Regions from separate parts of the Homo sapiens genome. Here all the other regions are linked to region 1. The links are contacts of gene promoters, found by promoter capture Hi-C in human tissues and cell types (Jung and others, 2019). All regions are on one chromosome and are shown on one strand. The core of a region is centred on a gene start or on the middle of the fragment in contact, and the rest is flanking DNA. Distances in the headings are between cores, read along the strand shown.

The links. The method cuts DNA at HindIII sites, captures the fragments that hold promoters and counts their contacts. A contact is called where the count stands out against the background at its distance.
Region 2: a contact is called between a fragment that was not itself captured here and the fragment with the promoter of CDC42BPB in region 1, in 1 of the 25 tissues and cell types used here (dorsolateral prefrontal cortex).
Region 3: a contact is called between a fragment that was not itself captured here and the fragment with the promoter of CDC42BPB in region 1, in 1 of the 25 tissues and cell types used here (lymphoblastoid cells).

What each region holds. Positions count from the first base shown.
Region 1 is chr14:103,056,170-103,059,185 of GRCh38, reverse strand. It overlaps CDC42BPB (CDC42 binding protein kinase beta), which reads left to right and starts at 1,637. Exons shown (of 37, transcript NM_006035.4): 1 at 1,637-2,187. The coding sequence starts at 2,013. RefSeq lists an enhancer at 500-1,150 and silencers at 1,146-1,255, 1,296-1,795, 1,886-1,965. The HindIII fragment of the contact is 24,533 bases long and covers 1-3,016 here.
Region 2 is chr14:103,307,087-103,310,102 of GRCh38, reverse strand. The region is part of intron 1 of LOC105370686 (a long non-coding RNA gene); the gene reads left to right. Among named protein-coding and RNA genes, the nearest start is that of EIF5, 26 kb to the left of the region's middle. The HindIII fragment of the contact is 5,149 bases long and covers 1-3,016 here.
Region 3 is chr14:103,275,165-103,278,180 of GRCh38, reverse strand. No RefSeq gene overlaps it. Among named protein-coding and RNA genes, the nearest start is that of EIF5, 58 kb to the left of the region's middle. The HindIII fragment of the contact is 6,253 bases long and covers 1-3,016 here.

The DNA.
Region 1 (3,016 bases), core at 388-2,887:
ACACAGTGACATGCACTCATCTTAAGAAGACAGTTTGAAGAATGTTTACTTATGCGTGCTCCCATGTAACTACTACCCAAATCCAGGCATAGAACATTACCAGCAGCCCAGAAGGTTCCTCCTCTTGTTCCAGTCAACAACTCCGGCATAGGCAGCCACTCCTCTTCTTCTTCTTCTTCTTCTTATTATTATTACTATTATTAAGACGGAGTCGTGCTCTGTTGCCCATGCTGGAGTGCAGTGGAGCGATCTTGGCTCACTGCACTTTCGCCTCCCGGGTTCAAGTAATTCTCCTGCCTTAGCCTCTCGAGTAGCTGGGACTACAGGCGCGCGCCACCACGCCCGGCTAGTTTTTTGTATTTTAGTAGAGACGGGGTTTCACCGTGTTGCCCAGGCTGGTCTCGAAGTCCTGAGCTCAGGCAATCCGCCCACCTCGGCCTCCTAAAGTGCTGGGATTACAGGTGTGAGCCACCGCGCCAGGCCCACTCCTATTTTTAGCTCCAGAGATTAGTTTTGCTTCAGGCTCCCTTAACGTCCTGCTTCAAACCCCTATCTGCCCCTTCATCGGCTCCACCTGGAGGCCACCGCTTCCACGGAAGCATGACCCCTTCCCCTGCACCCGCGCGCCCCAGAAGCTCTCAGATACCCCCACGATTTCGGTGACCTTCCGCAAGCTCCAGGAAAAGCCCCTCCTCTCCTGACGCCAAGGGTTTGTTGGGGTTGGGGGGTATCTCCATCAGCCTCCCTCCCCCAGCCACCCAAATTAACCAACAATCTTAGTAAATGCAGCGACTCGCTAGGCAAACCCAGCCTGGAGACAAATATCCGGCCCCTTTCCTACCAAACTGTCACACCTAGGCATTGGTCTGCAGGGAGGGCTGGACAGTGGAAACTGAAACCCTCTGCAAGCCATCACGAATCCACCGGGCACTGGGGACGCTGGCTCCCGCCTTGGCAGCATCCCCCAGAAGCCTGGGCCCTGACCCCACACCGTCTGGGCCTCAGTCTCTCATCGGTAAAGTCAGGGGTAGGGCCCGAGTCTTCCAGGACCGCTTCGAGCTGGGACAAGCCGTTTTAAATAGCCCACAACCCGCCGAGGCCATCAGAGCTGCGCCTGCCGGGCCGCCCTCGACCCCCACCTCGGCCGGGCAGGTCCGAGGCCCCGCAGGCAACATGGGCCCGCGGACTGCGGGACGGGGCTCGACGGCCTGAGATCGCGACTCTGCCTCTCCGATACTTGGGGTCGTCTTCGGCCCCGGGATCCGCGACGCGCGCGGTCGGACCCCGAATACTGAAGGCACCGGGTCCGCAGGGCGAAGGCGCACACGCCCACCAGGCGCGCTCTGCGCATGCGCGGGCTCCGCAATCTCAGCGGCCCACTCGCCCCGCCCCGCCCCCCCCACCCCCACCCCGCGCCGCTCCCCAGGCCCGGCCCTGCCTTCCCAGCATCCCGGCTCCCTACGGCAAGCGGCGAGGCCCGAGCCCGCCGGGAGCAGGGAGCCGGGCGCGGGGCGGGGCGGCGCGCTGAGGTCAGCGCGGCGGCGGCCGGCCCCGTAGTGGTTGGCTGCGCTGGTGCTGGCCGCGCCCTGGTTGGCTGCGGGCCGCGGGGCTGGGCCGCCGGGTCGGGGCTGGGGTCGGGCTCGGGCGCCGGCCGGGCTTGCGCAGCGCTAGGCTCCTCGCCGCTCCTAGTCTGCGGCGGCGGCGGCGGGGAGGGCGCGGCCGCGGGCGGGGCTGAGGGCGGCGGGGGCGGGCCGCCCGAGCTGGGAGGGCGGCGGCGCCGAGGGGAGGAGAGCGGCCCATGGACCCGCGGGGCCCGGCGCCCCAGACTCTGCGCCGTCGGGACGGAGCCCAAGATGTCGGCCTAGGCCGGGGCGCGACGACGCGGACGGGGCGGCGAGGAGGCGCCGCTGCTGCCGGGGCTCGCAGCCGCCGAGCCCCCGAGGGCGCGCCCTGACGGACTGGCCGAGCCGGCGGTGAGAGGCCGGCGCGTCGGGAGCGGGCCGCGCGGCACCATGTCGGCCAAGGTGCGGCTCAAGAAGCTGGAGCAGCTGCTCCTGGACGGGCCCTGGCGCAACGAGAGCGCCCTGAGCGTGGAAACGCTGCTCGACGTGCTCGTCTGCCTGTACACCGAGTGCAGCCACTCGGCCCTGCGCCGCGACAAGTACGTGGCCGAGTTCCTCGAGTGGGGTAAGTGCGCGCCGGCAGGGCCGGACCTGCGGCTCTGCGACCCCCGCGCCCCAGCCCGCGCATCCCCACGCCCGCCCATCCCCGCCCGGACAGACCCTGCCGCCCTCCTGCCCACCCAGCTCGTGGGCTTCGCCTCCTCTCGCTCTGGCAGCGCCCCCAGGCCCGCAGCCCATCTCTCTCCAGCCGCTCCTTGCACCCTCGTCCCTCCGCTAGCTTTTCATCCCTCCTTGCCCTCCCTAGGCTCGACATCCGCGTTCGATCGTCCCGCCCCCTCATCCTGCCCCTTGGAGCCACATCCTACGTTCCCACTCCCACCCCCTCCCCCCCGCCGGGCCCTCGCCCTGGCGGCTTCCTAGATCCACCCTCCGAGTCTGGATATCATTTCCTGCAGCACTCACTGGGATATCCGCCCCCGCCCCCGCCCCCGCCCCCGCACCTCGCCTTTGGGGTCCGGAGGCAGTGTGGAATTAGTTCCCTTTCCCCACCCCACGCTTCTCTGCGTTGTGGGGGCAGCTGGGTGTGCTTTCTGCATCTGCCTCGCCCACTGCCCCGTGGGACCCCCTTGCATCCCCAGGGAGCCCAGCTCTAACGGCCCCTCCTGGGTGACAGCCTGTCTACATCCCCTTGTTGGTCAGAGCCTGAATACCTACTTTGCTGTAACACCTTCAAGGGAATTTTAAGGTTAAGGCTTTATTTTAAATAAACCGTGCAAGAGGACTTTTTTTTTTTAATTCCAATTCTGCTAGACCTTTGTGATATTTGGAGGGGTAGCTGGAGCTATCACTTAGAAACTTTCTCATCTGAATTTTGCATGCCTTCTCTAGTTCGT
Region 2 (3,016 bases), core at 293-2,792, 250 kb before region 1:
CCTCCCAAAGTGCTGGGATTACAGGCGTGAGCCACCACACCCAGCCTTCCTTGGTTATTTAAATGATGGGCAAGCAGGCCCCAGGATGAGCACACAGGGCTTTCGCTGCTAAAACCAGGACGAGCTGGTTGTGCTAGTGGGCCCCACTGGACCAGGAGACGTTTCAGCTTAGAAAGCAGCTGCACATCTTGGAGAGACTCTGGGCAGAGCTGTGAAGGAGACCGGCCTGGATGGGTTGCCTGACCCCCCGGCACCCTGGCTGGAGCTGGGTAAGGGCATGTAGGGGCCTGTCATCAAGCCTGGCCCTGGGGACCACTGTGGTGGCCTGGCAGAGAAGGCAGTGCCTTCCATGGCTTCCCCAGCCTTCCTATGGCATCCACTCTTGGCCTTCTTGGGCACCTGCCAGCCTTGGTTTCTCACAAACTTTTCTGCTGCCATTGCCTGGGGAAGGAGGTACCCAAAAACATGGCACTGATGGAGCTTTAACTTCAGGGATTCTGGCAGTTTTTGCTGGGATCCCCATTTGTCAGCTGCTGTGCTGGGGAGGGAACAGCCCCCCACCAGTAGTTGTCCTAAGATCAAGGCCTGTGCCTTGATGGACAGGAGCTGGGATTCCATCTACCCTCAGACTGACCTTCTCAAGGCCGGTTGACTGAGTGGTGTTGATAAGACCCGCCTTGGAGCCTCCCTGGGGGCCTGAGCTCCTCTCCCTCTGGACCACCTGCTGGGCTAGGACTGGGTCTCAGGCTCTGGGGCAGCCAGGATAGACCGGCCGGTGGGGCTTCTGCTATTCCCAGTGTGGAGGTGGACACGTTCCATGCCAGGGCCTGACTAGGGCATGTCATTTGCACTCCCAGTTGTGCAGAGTGACAGCTGCATTGCTGAAGCATTCTCCTGTTCTCGTTTCTGAAGAAAAGTATTATGGAGAGGTCCGACATTCACAGGAGCAGAGCAAACAGCAGCACTCACGGCAACCACTCGGCCTTGCCAGCCACCCTCGCTTTGCCCAGCATCTCAACAAAGCATCCTGGTCATTTATTTTCCTTCCCTCCTTCCTTCCTTCCTTCCTTCCTTCCTTCCTTCCTTCCTTCCTTCCTTCTTTCCTTCCTTCCTTCTTTCCTTCCTTCCTTCTTTCCTTCCTTCCCTTCCTCCCTCCCTTCCTCTTTCTCTCTTTTTTCTTTCTTCTTTCTTTTTTCTTTCTTTCTTCTTTCTTTCTTTCTCTTTTCTTTCTGTTCTTTCTCTCTCTCTTCTTTCTTTCTCTCTCTTTCTTCTTTCTTTCTTTCTCTCTCTCTCTCTCTCCTTCCTTCCTTCCTTCCCTCCTTCCCTCCCTCCTTCCCTCCCTCCCTTCCTCCCTCCCTTCCTCCCTTCCTCTTTCTTTCTCTCTCTCTTTTTCTTTCAAGAGAGGATCTTACTCTGTCACTGAGGCTGGAGCATGGTGGCATGATCATGGCTCATTGCAGCCTCTACCTCCCAGTCTTAAGTGATCCTTCCACCTCAGCCTCTTGTGTAGCTGCGACTACAGGCACTTGCCACTGTGCTTCGCTAATTTTTGTATTATTAGTAGAGACAAGGTTTTGCTATGTTGCCCAGGCTGGTTTCAAACTCCTGAGGTCAAACAATCCTCCCACCTCGGCCTTCCAAAGTCCTGAGATTACAGGCATGAGCCACCACGCCCAGCCCAAAGAAGGTCATTTTCCCTTTCTTTCTTTCTTTCTTTCTTTCTTTCTTTCTTTCTTTCTTTCTTTCTTTCTTTCTCTCTCTCTCTCTCTTTCTTTCTTTCTTTCTTTCCTTCTCTCTCTCTCTCCCTCCCTCCCTCCTTTCCTTCCTTCCTTCCTTCTTTCCTCTCTTTCTTTTTAAGAGACAGGGCCTCCCTATGTTGCCCAAGCTGGTCTCATACTCCTGGACTCCAGGGATCTTCCTGCCTCAGCCTCCCAAAGTGCTAGGATTACAGGCATGAGCCACCACGCCTGGCCAAGGTCATTTTCTTAAGTAACTAAAGGGCCCCTGTTACACCTTACAGCATCGACAGCAATTGCTTCCCCCTCAGCGTCACCACTGGCTCTGTGGGTCCAAAGGACCCTTTACATTTTCAACGTTTAAGTCATTTTAGAAATACAGGCAAACCTCATTTGATTGCATTTCACTTAATTGCATCTTGCAGATATTGTTTTAATGTTTAAACAAATTCAAGGTCTGTGAGCAAATCTATCATTTTTTCCCCAACAACATGTGCTCACTTCATGTCTGTCTTGTCACGTTTTGCTAATTCTTACAGTATTTCCAACTTTTTCATTAGAATTATATCTGTTACGATGATCTGTGATGTTACCATCATCACTGTTTTGGGGGACCACAAACCGTGTTCTTCTGAGATAGTGAACTTAATGGATAAACGTTGTGTGTTCTGAGTGCTCCTCAGACCGGCCGCTCCCCCATCTCTCTCCAACTCCTCAGGCCTCCTTAAGCCAAGATAGGCCAAAAGCTAGGTCTCTTGCGACAGACAGCCAAGTTGTGAACACAAAGGAATAGTTCTTGAAGGAAATTTAAATGTGCTACTCCGGTGAACACATGGATGATGAGAAAGTGAAACACCCTCACTGCTGCTATGGAGGGAGTTGGAGTCTGGATAGATCAAACCAAACACAACATTCCCTTAAGCCAAAGCCTCATCCAGAGCATGGCCCTCACTCTCTTCAATTCTGTGAAGGCTGAGAGAGGTGAGGGAGATGCAGAAGAAAAGTTGAAAGCCACCAGAGGTTGGTTCATAGAAAGAGGGCTTTCATAGCTAGAGAGGAGAAGTCAATGTCTGGCTTCAGAGCTTCAAAGCACAGGCTGACTCTCTTGTTAGTGGCTAATGCAGCTGGTGACTTTACATGGAAGCCAGTGCTTGTTTACCATTCAGAAAATCCTAGGACACTTAAGAATATGCTAAATTGGCCGGGCGTGGTGGCTCACGCCTGTAATCCCAGCACTTTGGGAGGCCGAAGTGGGCAGATCACTTGAGATCAGGAGTTCA
Region 3 (3,016 bases), core at 296-2,795, 220 kb before region 1:
CAGGCCTCAGGAAACTTACGATCATGGTGGAAGGAGAAGCAAACAAGTCCTTCTTCACATGGGGGCAGGAAGAAGTGCTGAGCAAAAGGGGGGGAAACCCCTTATAAAAGCATCAGCTCTTGTGAGAACTCATTGACTATCCTGAGAACAGCAGCATGGAGGTAACCGCCCCCATGATTCAATTACCTCCCACTGGGTCCCTCCCATGACACACAGGGATCATGGGAACTACAATTCAAGATGAGATTTGGGTGGGGACACGGCCAAACCACACCACCATCTCTACAAAAAATACAAAATTAGTTGGGCATGGTGGTGCATGCCTGTGGTCCTAGCTACTCAGGAGGCTGAGGTGGGAGGATCACCTGAGCCCAGGGAGGTCAAGTCAGCAGTGAGCTGTCATTGTGCCACTGTACTCCAGCAGCCTAGACGACAGCCTAGGCTGTCTCGAAAAAAAAAAAAAAAAAAAAAAAGGAAGAAAAATATCCAGTAAATTAATTCCAAATAAAGTAGAAGAAAGTAAATAACAATTAGCTGGACAAGGTGGTATGCATTTGTAGTCCCAGTCCCAGCTACTCTGGAGGCTGGGGTGGGAGGATTTCTTGAGCCCAGGATGTCAAAGCTGCACTGAGCTGAGATTCTGATACTGCACTCCAGCCTGGGCAATGGAGCAAGACCCTGTCTCTAGCAAGAAAAAAAAAAAAAAAAAAAAAGAAAAGAAAAGAAAAAATAAAATAAAGCACAAATTATTTGAAAACAAGAACAGAGAGGATCAACAAAGCCAGATGTTGGGTCTTTGAAAATTTAGATGAAAAGAAAAAACTCCTAAAATATATAACTAATTAAGCTAAAATTAAAGTAACAGATCAGAATAGTTCCATATCTATTAAATACATTGAGTATATAATTAAAAACTTCCCACATGAAAGCTGTAGGTTCCAATGTCTTCTCTGATTAATTGTAACAAACATTTAAGGGAGAAAAAAAGAGTTCATTTTACAAAAAAGAAAAGACCTCTCTCAGAGACTAGAAAAAGAGGGAACTTGTTTTATGAGAGCAGGGTAACCTTGCTATCAATCAGACAAGGACATCATGAAAAAGGAAATTTACAGGCCAGTCTCACATACACTCACACATTCACAGGTGTGAAAATCCTAAATAAAATAAATTCAGTGTTAAATTAAAAAAGATAACACACTACGATTAAGTGGACTTTAACACAGGGATGTAAGATTAACTTAATATGCTAAAAATAAATTTAAATGGTCATGTAAAAGAATAGAAAAGAAAAATCATATGACCATCTGAGTAGCTGTGGGAAAAGCATTTGATAAAATTCAACATCCATTCATGACAAAAAGACTGTTAGCCACCTGGGAATAAAAGAAAATGTCCTCAGTCTATTTAAGATAGATACAGGAAGTTTCTAGTAAATATCATACCGTACATAATAAATATTATACACACTTTTGTCAAGTTTCCCACTATCTCCACTTCTACTTAACGCTGCACTGAGGTTTTCAACAATGTGACTAAGGCCAGGAAAAGAAACAAAAGGCATAATACTCTCATTATGTAGCTGATATATGTTCATTGAAAATATAAAAATGTCTAATAATTTTTTCTTTTTACATTTTCTTTTTCTTTCTTCTTTGTTTTTTAATCATCTAACCAGGTGAAAAATCTAGTATTTCTTTTTTTTCTTGAGACAGAGAGTCTTGCTGTGTCACACAGGCTGGAGCACAGTGGCACGATCATAGCTCACTGCAACCTCGACCTCCTTGGCTCAAGTGATCTTCTCGTCTCAGCCTCCAAAGTAGCTGGAACCACAGCCGTGTGCCACCAGGCTTGGCTAACTTAATTTTTTTTTTTTTTTTTTTTTGTAGAGACTGAGTCTCACTATGTTGTTCAGGCCAGTCTGGAACTCCTGGGCTCAAGCAGTCCTCCCACCTTGGCCTCCCAAAGTGCTGAGATTACAGGCATGAGCCACTGTGCCTGGCATAAATTGTTAAAATGAATAAGAGAGTTTAACAAGGTTGCTGGTTACAAAGCCAACACATAAAAATCATTTGCAACTCTATAGACCAACAATACAAAAATAACAAGCAAGAGCAAAATAAAAATGCATTTTAATAGCATCAAAAGACAGCAAATACCTAGGTAACAATCTAACAAAAGATGTACATGACTTCTATGCAGAAAACTATGAGACATTATTGTGATAGATTAAAGAGAAACAGACAAACATGTTCATGGATTAAAAGACTCAATATTTAAAATATGTTAATTTTTCTGAAACCAATTTGCTTCAATGTAATCCTAATCAAATTCTGGCAAGTATTTTGATTGCAGTCCATCAAGCTGATTCTAAAGCTTGTATAGAGATGCATAGGACCAAAGTTAGGCAAAATATTCTTTAAAAAGAATAATAAGGTGGGAAGATTTTGGTCCACCAGAGGCATCAAGATTTACAATAAAGTTATAAGATTTACAATAAAGCGACAGCAAATAGTGTAGAAAGACAGACAAATAGAACAGAGAGGGCACTGCCTAATGATGGTAGGGGAAGAATGGTCCTTTCAACAAATGTAATAGGATGGTTGATCAACAGATGGTGGACACAAAGAAAACTTAATATACAAAAACAAAATCCAGATATATGGTAGCTCTAGCTGCAAAAGGCAAAGCAACAAGGGTTAGAGAAGATAACATAACAGAAGATTTTCATGAACTCTGGGAAGAGAAGTGCTTATTACATAGACCATAGCATTGATCATAAAGGAAAGGATAATACATTTGATTATGTTAACACTGAGAGTTTCTCTTAATCAAAAGACACCATTGACAGAGTAAAAAGGCAAACTGCACAGTTGGAGAAGAGATTTGCAGTCCAATATTACTGACAAAGTATTCCTATCCAGAATATAGAAAGAACTACATACCAATAAGAAAAAGACAGCTGAATATAAAAATGGGCAAGAGACCTGAACAGTCACCTCATAAGAATATGTAAAAT